Linked DNA regions of Homo sapiens: region 2 is linked to region 1. Evidence: promoter capture Hi-C in 16 types of primary human blood cells and fetal thymus (Javierre and others, 2016). All regions are on one chromosome and are shown on one strand. The core of a region is centred on a gene start or on the middle of the fragment in contact, and the rest is flanking DNA. Distances in the headings are between cores, read along the strand shown. Region 1 holds the start of WFDC3 (WAP four-disulfide core domain 3). Region 2 overlaps LOC107987282 (a long non-coding RNA gene).

What was found. Contacts are between HindIII fragments. The CHiCAGO score rates a contact against its expected background, and 5 or more counts as called.
Region 2: a fragment that was not itself captured here is called in contact with the fragment with the promoter of WFDC3 in region 1 in 1 of 17 cell types (M1 macrophages); the score reaches 5.6 in M1 macrophages.

The regions. Positions count from the first base shown.
Region 1 is chr20:45,788,177-45,793,476 of GRCh38, forward strand. WFDC3 (WAP four-disulfide core domain 3) reads right to left here and starts at 3,707. Exons shown (of 7, transcript NM_080614.2): 1 at 3,656-3,707; 2 at 1,718-1,806; 3 at 755-883. The coding sequence starts at 1,799. It overlaps DNTTIP1 (deoxynucleotidyltransferase terminal interacting protein 1), which reads left to right and starts at 3,778. Exons shown (of 13, transcript NM_052951.3): 1 at 3,778-3,933; 2 at 4,501-4,571. The coding sequence starts at 3,829. RefSeq lists silencers at 3,861-4,130, 4,341-4,480. The HindIII fragment of the contact is 10,060 bases long and covers 388-5,300 here.
Region 2 is chr20:45,500,203-45,505,229 of GRCh38, forward strand. The region is part of intron 1 of LOC107987282 (a long non-coding RNA gene); the gene reads left to right. Among named protein-coding and RNA genes, the nearest start is that of SPINT3, 13 kb to the right of the region's middle. The HindIII fragment of the contact is 666 bases long and covers 1,366-2,031 here.

The sequences.
Region 1 (5,300 bases), core at 2,457-4,956:
CCTGTAAATCCCAGCTACTTGGGAGGCTGAGGCAGGAGAATCACTTGAACCCGGGAGGCAGAGGTTGCGGTGAGCCGAGATCACGCCACTGCATTCTAGTCTGAGCAACAAGAGCGAAACTCCGTCTCAAAAAAAAAAGAGAGAGAGAGAGAGAAAATAGTGCCTGGCAACACCCACGGGCACAGCAGAAGGGAAAAACAGAAAAAGGAAGTCCTGAGATTTATTTAAGCCTCTCAACCCTGGTGCTAAGACAAAGAGACAATAATAACAACAATAGTAATAGCAAATATTTACTGTAACATTTACTGACGTTTACCTTGTGCCATGAACATCTTATTTGATCCTCACAATTATCCCCATTTTATAGATGAGGAAACTGAGGCTAAAAGCTTAAGATTTATAAAGAGCTAAGGCTTAAGGCTTAAAAAGGTCTGCTTGGCTCTAGGGTCTACTCTCTTAATCATTATCTTACACAGCCTTCCCTTTACAACTCTTCCCTCCAGCCTTCACAGGAACTTTGAGTCCAAAGTAAAAGACATAGATAATCAATGGTGCGCTCTTTCCTGATGGAAGGCAAACAACTGGGGGCACTGAATAATTAAAGGAGGAGGGACCCTAAAAGAGTAAAGAAGAAGTACTCTAGGCAAGGGAGACTTCCAGAGGCAACCTAGAAGGTGGGAAGCTCTCTACTTCCATCTATCCCAGAGGCAATGTCAGAGAGTATGCCCAGATTTTGCCCCTCATGCCAACATACCCTTAGGAATGTCTCGGCAGATCCGACCACAGCCTGTGGTGCAGCACTTCTGTTCAGCCGGACACAATTCATCACCCTGGCACAGCTCTTTGCATGGGTTCTTATGGGGAGGGCATTCTCCCTCTTTTGCTGCAAAAGATACTATTTGAGTTTGGGGTAACTAGCCAGGCCTCAGAAATGGGGAATGGACCTTCAGCCCCTCCAGGCATCTCTATCCAAAATATTTCTGCACCACTGCACTCTAGCCTGGGTGACAGAATGAGACCCTGTCTCTTAAAAAAAAAAAAAAATTCTGGCTGGGCACGATAGCTCATGCCTGTAATCCCAGCACTTTGGGAGGCCGAGGCGGGCGGATCATGAGGTCAGGAGATCGAGATCATCCTGGCTAACACAGTGAAACCCCATCTCTACTAAAAATACAAAAAATTAGCTGGGCGTGGCGGCGGGCACCTGTAGTCCCAGCTACTCGGGAGGCTGAGGCAGGAGAATGGCGTGAACCTGGGAGGTGGAGTTTGCAGTGAGCTGAGATCACGCCACTGCACTCCAGCCTGGGTGACAGAGTGAGACTCCATCTCAAAAAAAAAAAAAAAATTCTGCAACCACCTTCCCCTCCTCATACACAAATACTAACATATATCCACCACTGCTAAAGGAGCAGCCATCCTGCAGATAACGAGAGAGAAAGGGTGGGATGATCCTGTTCTCATTTAATGAGTTCTAGGGAAAAGCTAGAACCTCTAGTAAGCCCAACTGGAAGTCCTATCTCCTTGTCCAGAGAGGGTAAAGAAAGCCAGGAAGAATGACCCAGGCCATCCTGAGAATCTATTCATCCAGTCCTGTCCTATAGAGATGATCATCTCCACTTACAAGCAACCTTGCTCTGGGAGAAGGCAGGGGATGAGTTCTCCTCTCCTCTAGTCACTTTCTGTTACTGTTGGCCAGGGATCCCAAATGATAGCTCACCATGTTCTCCTGCAGTTATCCAGGATTCCAGAGACCCAAGAGCAAGAAGTGCCTTCAGAAGAAAGAGGCAGCTTAACATCATGATGATGCTGAGAGTTGGGACAAGAGCTCAGTTCAGGCTAGAGGTGTACACCTTGCCCAGAGTATCAGCTGAGGTATGAGCAGGACTAGGGATGGCCCCAAACCCAGTCCCAAAACCTTCCCTTTCACAATACTCCCCAAGAATATCTTCTCCTGACAAGAAGAAGAGGGATTGGCTGCTGGAGTGTGGGAAAATTCCTGGCACTACCAAAGGGGACCTGTGATGGGAGGATCAAATTCTGTAAGCAATATACACAATATTCCTGGATGATGAGAAACCTAGTGGGTGGCTGGAAAAATGGAGGGGTGGCCATTGGAAAAAGAATCAAAGAGAGCCCTAAAGGGCATTGGAAGGACATGGCTTTAGCCCAAATAACAGAGGGAGGGATTCACGACACTACTTAATGGCCAAAGCTAATAACATAACCAAGCATAATAAAATTGTGGCTCCTGTTCATCCTAGCAACCAAGAAAATACAGAATGGAACAGACCACTCAGAAACTATCAAATAGGCCAAGGCGGGCAGATCACCTGAGGTCAGGAGTTTGAGACCAGCCTGGCCAACATGGCGAAACCCTGTCTCTACTAAAAATACAAAAATCAGCTGGGCATGCTGGTGCATGCCTGTAATCCCAGCTACGTGGGAGGCTGAGGCAGGAGAATAGCTTGAACCCAGGAGGCAGAGGTTGCAGTGAGTGGAGATCATGCCACTGCACTCCAGCTTGGGTAACAGAGTGAGACTCTGTCTCAAAAAAAAAAAAAAGAGAGAAAAGAAACTATCAAAAACCTACAGAAAAGCAGTAGTTGAGTTTGTTAAGAACTAATGAAAAGCACCAAACACCTACATCTTTGTCCCTCTAACCCACACAGGCCATTCTTGGACTGTATGAAGTCTAGCTGGCAGAACCCAAGAGAAGTTGCTATGTATGACTCAAATAGTCTGCCCACATATACCTCCTTTATTTCTTTTTTCTCCATTTCTTTTTTTCTTTATCTGTCCTGGTCATGCCTTTGGTTAGCTGTGATACCTAATGGTGTCCACTGGCACTGCTTAGTCCTATGGGCAGGTACAAGGTAAAACCTCCTTAATAGGATCAAAAAGTTTGGAGCCAGGAAGTCGCCCTTATGGTTAGAAGGCTGATGTTGGCTCATGGAGATAATTAACATTTGATGATGACCTCATATGTGCCTAATATGCTTTTTTTTTTTTTTTTTTTTTTTTTTTTGAGACAGAGTCTCCCTCTGTCCCCCAGGCTGGAATGCAGTGGCGCGATCTCGGCATAATTAACATTTGATGATGACCTAACATGTGCCTAATGTGCTTTTTTTTTTTTTTTTTTTGAGACAGTCTCCCTCTGTCGCCCAGGCTGGAGTGCAGTGGCGTGATCTCGGCTCACTGCAACCTCCGCCTCCTGGGTTCAAGAGACTCTCCTGCCTCAGCCTCCCGAGTAGCTGGGATTACAGGTGCCCACCACCACGCCCGGCTAATTTTTATATTTTTAGTAGAGACGGGGTTTCGCCATGTTGGCCAGGCTGGTCTCGAACTCCTGATGGCAAGTGATCCTCCCGCCTCGGCCTCCCAAAGTGCTGGGATTACAGGCGTGAGCCACCGCCCCTGGCCGAGCATATTAAAATCTAGTTTTCAAAAACTGAACTGCAGGCGCCGCTGTACCAAACGCTTCCCTCTGCTCCCCAACCCCAGCCTACAGAAAACTGGTCCCTTCCTCCTACCCCGCAGTCATCCCCAGGCCTTGGCCCAGCGGGAAACATCCCTTGACTGAACCGCCACTGAACACCCACACTGCACAATCGAGGCGCAGCCCTCCCGAGAGGAAGCCCCAACGACCTCCACCTACAAGGCCTCTAAGTGTAACTGTCCTGGGCGAGGCGCGGCGGTTCGGTTCCCATGGTAACCCCGCAGCTCCAGCGTCGCGCTTCCGGGCGGACGAGCAGCGCGCTCCAGTGACGTCACGGCGCCACTTTCCGGCCGGTGACAGAGTCCAGCGGAGTTGTGGGGGCCGGGGGCGCCATGGGAGCCACTGGCGACGCCGAGCAGCCGCGGGGACCTAGCGGGGCCGAGAGGGGCGGCTTGGAGCTGGGGGATGCGGGCGCAGCGGGGCAGCTGGTTCTTACGGTGAGGGCGCCCCCGGTGAGGTCTGGGCTCAGGCCGGGCACGGCCTCGGGGCTCCTGGGACCCTGGCCCGCGGGCGAGAGAACGCGGAGGCTGGAGCTGCAGAGGGGGTTGGCGTTTTCGCAGCCCGACGACCTGGATTTAAATTCTGGTGCCGCCCTCCTAGCTAGGTGACGTGGGCCATCTCTGTCAACCCCCTGAGTCCCAGGATCCTCTTCTATAAAATGGAAATGATTAGTACCTGTCTCATAAAACTTGTTGTGGGATGGGAAGATAAAGGCGGGTACAACGCCCCGGACATCACCTGACACAGAGTTGACCCTCGGTAAATACTGCTTCCCTTCCTCCTGCCGTGCCAGAAGGCAGGGTCGGGACTTTTAAGGCAGGAAACTTCCTCAGTTCCTCTTTTGTGGAGGAGGCCTTACAACTATCGTCCCACCCCAAGGCGGGAGAGATGGTGACGGATCTGAGAAGCAGGGATGTCCAGGTTTAACTTCATACCCACCCTCCACCTCCACCCCACCCCAGTGTCACAGGCCGCAGTGACATTTGTTCCGTTGGTCCCCACAGAACCCTTGGAACATAATGATAAAGCACCGGCAGGTGCAGCGGAGGGGCCGCCGCTCACAGATGACAACAAGGTAAGGCTGGCCCTGCATGGGGCTTATATCCCAGCCACTGGCTTGCATGGCAGATTTGGGATCCCCAGTGCACAAGGCTATGGAGATCTACAGCCGGTAGAAAGAGCACAGGACTGAGGAAGAGGAGACTCCGATTCTGTAACTCTGTGTGATCTTGAACTAGTCAAGTCACTTCCTTCTCTGAACTCACGTACAAAATGGGGAAGGGCACAGGAGATGGGTTGTGGAATAAACAATACCTAAGATCCCTCACATTCACTGGCTCTGTGGTTGAGGGCTCTAAAGAGGTCAGTTAGCATGGAGTTTAAGAGAACAGGCTCTGGAGTCAGACAACTGTGTTCTCATCAACAGACTCTGATGAGCCCGTTTTCTCAACTATAAAGAGGGATTAATAGTATGCATGTCAGGGAAGGGAGAGAGCACAAGGTGGGCCTTTGGGATGCTGATAGTGGTGAAATGGATGTTCACTATAATTACTCATTAAAGTGTATAGACTTTTCTGTATAAGTATTATATTTCATAAAAACACTTTGGGCCGGGCGCGGTGGCTCACGCCTGTAATCCCAGCACTTTGGGAGGCTGAGGTGGGTGGATCACCTGAGGTCGGGACTTCCAGAACAGCCTGACCAACATGGAGAAACCCCGTCTCTACTAAAAATAACAAAAAATTGGCCGGGCGCGGTGGCTCACGCCTGTAATCCCAGCACTTTGGGAGTCTGAGGCGGGCAG
Region 2 (5,027 bases), core at 449-2,948, 290 kb before region 1:
TTTCCCAAGCCCCCACTGGGAGTGGTTGGCAACGGTAGAACATGAGCCTCCCCTTGCCAATGTGATTCAACTGTCATCTGCATAGCAGCAGTCAGGGGGCAAAGGTGGAAAGGGGCGGGCTGAGCAGAGCCATGGTGTCAGTGGGTGGAGGGCGAGTTGCTGAGAACCCATCCCAGGGAGGCAGCAAGAGGTGGCACTGCTCTTGAGTCCGGACGCCTAGCTCCTGGAGCATGCACCATCGTCTAATTAACCTTCACTTACAAACACAAATTTAAATAACTGAGAATTTTAAGACAATGACCACAGGGAATTACATCCTGGGTGCAGGGTCCTTCTGTGTCCAGGGCCCTGTGTGATTTGGGTGCATGCCTACAAAGCCCATCTCTAGACCTTATTCGGATTCTACAAATTGTCTCAATAATGTCCTTTACAACAAAAGAAAATCTTGGATCCTGTGTTGCATTTAGCTGTCACACCTCTTTAATCTTCTTTCTTTTTCCTTTTTAAAATTACTTAGTTCAGGAGCAGATCTTCCTTTAATCTTCTTTCATCTGGAAAAGTTTCTCAATCTTTTTTTGTCTTTCATGACATTAACATTTTGGACGATTAAAGGCCATGTATTTTACAGACTGTCTCTCAATTGAGTTTATCTGCTATTTCTTCACAATTAAATTCATGTTATGCGTTTCTGGCAGGAATACTATAGAAAAGATACTGTGTTCTTTGTGGTGGATCATACCACGAGGCACATGCTGTTGATTTGTTTTGTTACTAATGGTGTTAACTTTGACTACTTGAGTAAGATGGTGGCTGCCTATTTTCCCATTTGCAATAAATAAGTATTTGTGGGAAGATACTTTGGATCTATGCAAAAATATTATTACTTCTCAAAATTTTACCCACTAGTTTTAGCATACATTGATGATTCTTGCCTAAATCAATGATTATTTAATGGTTGCTAGATGATGTTTTCCTTTTATTTTTTTCTTTTATTTATGTTTTTTGTAGAGACGGTCTCGTTATATTGCTCAGGCTTGTCTTGAACTCCCAGCCTCAAGAGTTCCTCCCACCTCGGCATCCCAAAGTGCTGGGATTACATGTGTGAACCATCATGCCCAGCTGTTAAATGATGATTTTCTAATTCTATCCTTGACCCCTTGTCTACCTTTACTGAGCCCTTTTTGGCTTCCTATCCTTGCCTACGATGTGACATTTTGATGTGTTCCATCTACTCTTCTGAGCCTGTGGGCACGATGCGGGTAGGGGAGGTTTGGGACTCTGATCTCTCTGAGGTTTGGGTTAAATGTCTTAAGCCAGGGTTTACTCCATTAGTTAATGGAGTGTCTTACTCCCGAGAGGGCATTAAGCTTCACTTTCCCACCATCCTTCTTTCTCTCCTTCCTTCCTTCTATAATTCAGAGACTATGAGAATCATGGCTCTGACTCATAGCTTAACACTTTAACTCTAAAAAAGAAATCCCAGGTCCCTCTTTTCCTCCATGGTATCATGTCTACAAAACTAATCTACAAGTACTTGTTGAGTACTTATTCTGTGCATACCGTTTTGCTTGGCTCACTGTAGAGAAGAAATGTGTAAGGCAAAGTCACTGCTTTCAAGAACCCACAGCTGTAAACATGAAGAGTAGAAGCAGGCAGGCCTGGAATATCTCTGTGTAGTCTACATGGAGAGGTCCAGGGGATTTTATGGGATGGGGAGGTAAATAGGTCATGGCAGAGCTGAACTTTAATGATAGCAAACTGATTAAAAAGCATTGGCTCTAGAATTAGACTTTGATTCCAACACCATCTTCATTCCTTCCTAATTTGTTATTCTGGGCAAGTAATTTATCTTTCTGACCTTCAACTTTTTCATTTGTAAGATACAGATATTAATAGAATCTTCTTCTCAGGGCTATTGCGAATATTAAATGAGATAATGCATGCAAAGCACTTAGGTTGGTTCCTGACATATCCTAAGTGTTTCATAAACAGTAGTTATTAAAATCTTAAAGGAAGGTATTATGTGTCAAAAGCTTTTCAAATGCATGTCCACAGTTGACCCAGAAATTCCACTTAGAATCTATCATGAGTAAACAACCAGAAATACCCATAGTGATTACTTACTATATCGAGAAAACCTCAACAACCTTTAACATTTAACATTAACATGTAACCATTGAAGCTTGTTTAAATAAATGGTGATCTCTTTATGCAAGTAAAGCTCTACACATATTAGCAATTATGTTACAGAATATTTAATGATACAAGAAAATCTTTACCTAATATTGTCAACTGGGTAAATCTATGAATCTGCATTAATATATATTCTTAAACTGTTCTCTATCCCATATATTCTTTCATTCTTCCCAGAAACATTTTTAAAGGACTTGAGGAGCTTGCCACTGCCCCAAGGGGCATTTGGAAGATTTTTCTCTAGCAAGTGTGAATTAAAAAATTTAATGGGACCTCAATATTATGTCAGGAGGGTTCTTCCCAGTGCTCATGTAGCATATCTGGCACACACTAGCCTCTGGTACACTTTGTGAGAGTTAAGTTTATCTGTTTGTCTTTGCATGCCAGCAACTTTTATAACACAAGAGCTCTCAGAATCCAGACATGGTGATTTAGAACTACTGGGTATTTGTACTGATAGGGACCAGGCACTATGAGCCTTAAGCTTTCACCTGTGAATAAATCTCAGGGAAGAAGGAGAGGAGAGGGAAGAGACCAAAGAATCGACATTTTCTCCCCACAGTGTGGCCTTTTTATTGATTTAAAGAGAAGAGACGTGAAGCTGCAAAACTTTTTTGGTAGCAAAGCAGGGTGTTTTTATCAGTTCTTATTTTTTGCTTTGAATTCTCAATGCCACTACCTCTGTCCAAGCTTACAATCCGTCATAACCAGATGATGGTAAAGCTGCCCACCCTGTTTCTCTAAACAAATCTTCCCAATTCTAGAACTGAGACTTTTTTTTTTTTTGAGACAGAGTCTCACTTTGTCTCTCAAGCTGGAGTGCAGTGGCATGAATTTGGCTTACTGCAACCTCCGCTTCTGGGTTCAAGTGACTCTTATGCCTCAGCCACCCAAGTAGCTGGCATTACAGGTGTGCACCACCATGCCTGGCTAACTTTTTTGTATTTTTACTAGGTTTCACCATGTTGGCCAGGCTGATCTTGAACTCTTGGCCTCAAGTGATCTGCCCACATTTGCCTCCCAAAGTGCTGAGATTACAGGTGTGAGCCACCACTCCCAGCCAAGAACTGAGACTTTAAGCTCTCACTGCATTTGACTCTGGGCAAGTTGCTCCTGGTGGCAGTCAGACTTCTCAGATGACTCCAATGACCTCCACTTCCTGGTTTTTATGCCTTTGTGTGTTCTCCTCCTCGAGTGTGGACTGAACCTAGTGACTTGATTCTAATGAGTAGTGATGTCATGGAAAATGTTGGGACGTCACTTCTGAGATTAGGTTACAAAAGACTATGACTACAATAACTTATTGTATATTTCAAAATAGCTAGAAGAAAAACTTTGGAATGTTCCCAACACAAAGAAATGATAACTGCCTTGGGTGATGGATATGCCAGTTATTCTGATTTGATTATTATACATTGTGTGCATGTATCAAAATATCAAATGCCCCCCATAAATATGTATAACAATTATGTATTAATAAAAAAAAGACTGACTGGGCTTGGTGGCTTACACCTGTAATCCCAGCACTTTGGGACGCCGAGGCAGGTGGATCACCTGAGGTCAGGAGTTCGAGACCAGCCTGGTTAACATGGTGAAACCCCATCTCTACTAAAAATACCAAAAGTAGCCAGGCATGGTGGCACATGCCTGTAATCCCAGCTACTCGGGAGGCTGAGGCAGGAGAATCGCTTGAACCTGGAAGGTGGAGGTTGCAGTGAACCGAGATTGCACCACTACACTCTAGCCTGGGTGACAGAGTGAGTGAGACTCCGTCTAAAAACAAAAGACTGTGACTTCTACCTTCTATTCAGTCTCTCTGGAGCTTCTTGCTTGCTCACTCTGATAAAGCAATCTATAGGTTATGAGCTGCCCTCTGGAAGGACCCACTGACCAACGAACTGGAAGTGACCTGCAAGCAACTGAATCCTGCCAGCAACCATATAAGTGGGCTTGGAAGTGCATGCTTCCCTAGTTGAGCCCCAGCCAGCCAACAATTAGACTTCATCCCTGTAGAAGACCCTGATCCACAGGACTAGTTCTGTAGTCCTTGTGTCCTGCCTCTTCCCTCACCTCCTGTGAGAGTTCCCCTGAATTCCTGCCCTGGTGGTACAGAATGGTGTATCCAGTCTGCCCCCACTGCAACAGAACTGCCTTCTCTTTGGGAATTTGTTTCTTCACAGAATCACAGGATGTTATTTTCAAAGGGTGTCTGTGCTTGTGTTTAACCTTGTGCTATTTTATAATAATGAACCATTGGAAACCAAGTAAACTAAGTAAATTACAATGCTTGGTAGGTCAGAATATTATGTAGCCATTAACAATGACACCAGAGAATATTCACCCACCTGGGAAAAAGTTTATAATATAATGCTAAGTAAAAGTCTTGGTAGAAAAAAAAAAACGCTGGTAGAAAATAGTGAAAATAGTACACACTCTCTCTCCCTCCTTCTCTCTCTCTCTCTATATATATATATACACACACACTATATAGAGAGAGTATATACTTATTGTATATGAGTACTATTTTTACTATTTTCATATATATAAACATTTATAATAGCATATATAAATTTATACAAAAATATATAGCATTATATACTATATATAAAGTATATATACTTTATATGCATATATAAAGTAATTAAAAGCCTATGGAGAGGATATTACTTTGAGATGCTAATTGGAGCTTTATACCTGTAGATCTACTTCTCTTTGGTCTTTCTCTCACTTCTGGCACCTGGACATTCTACCTCATGCCTGGGGAGGAGACAGGACAGCATTATACAGCTCGCAGAATATTTAAATTCTTGGCTTGTAGAGTTCAAAAGAGAAGG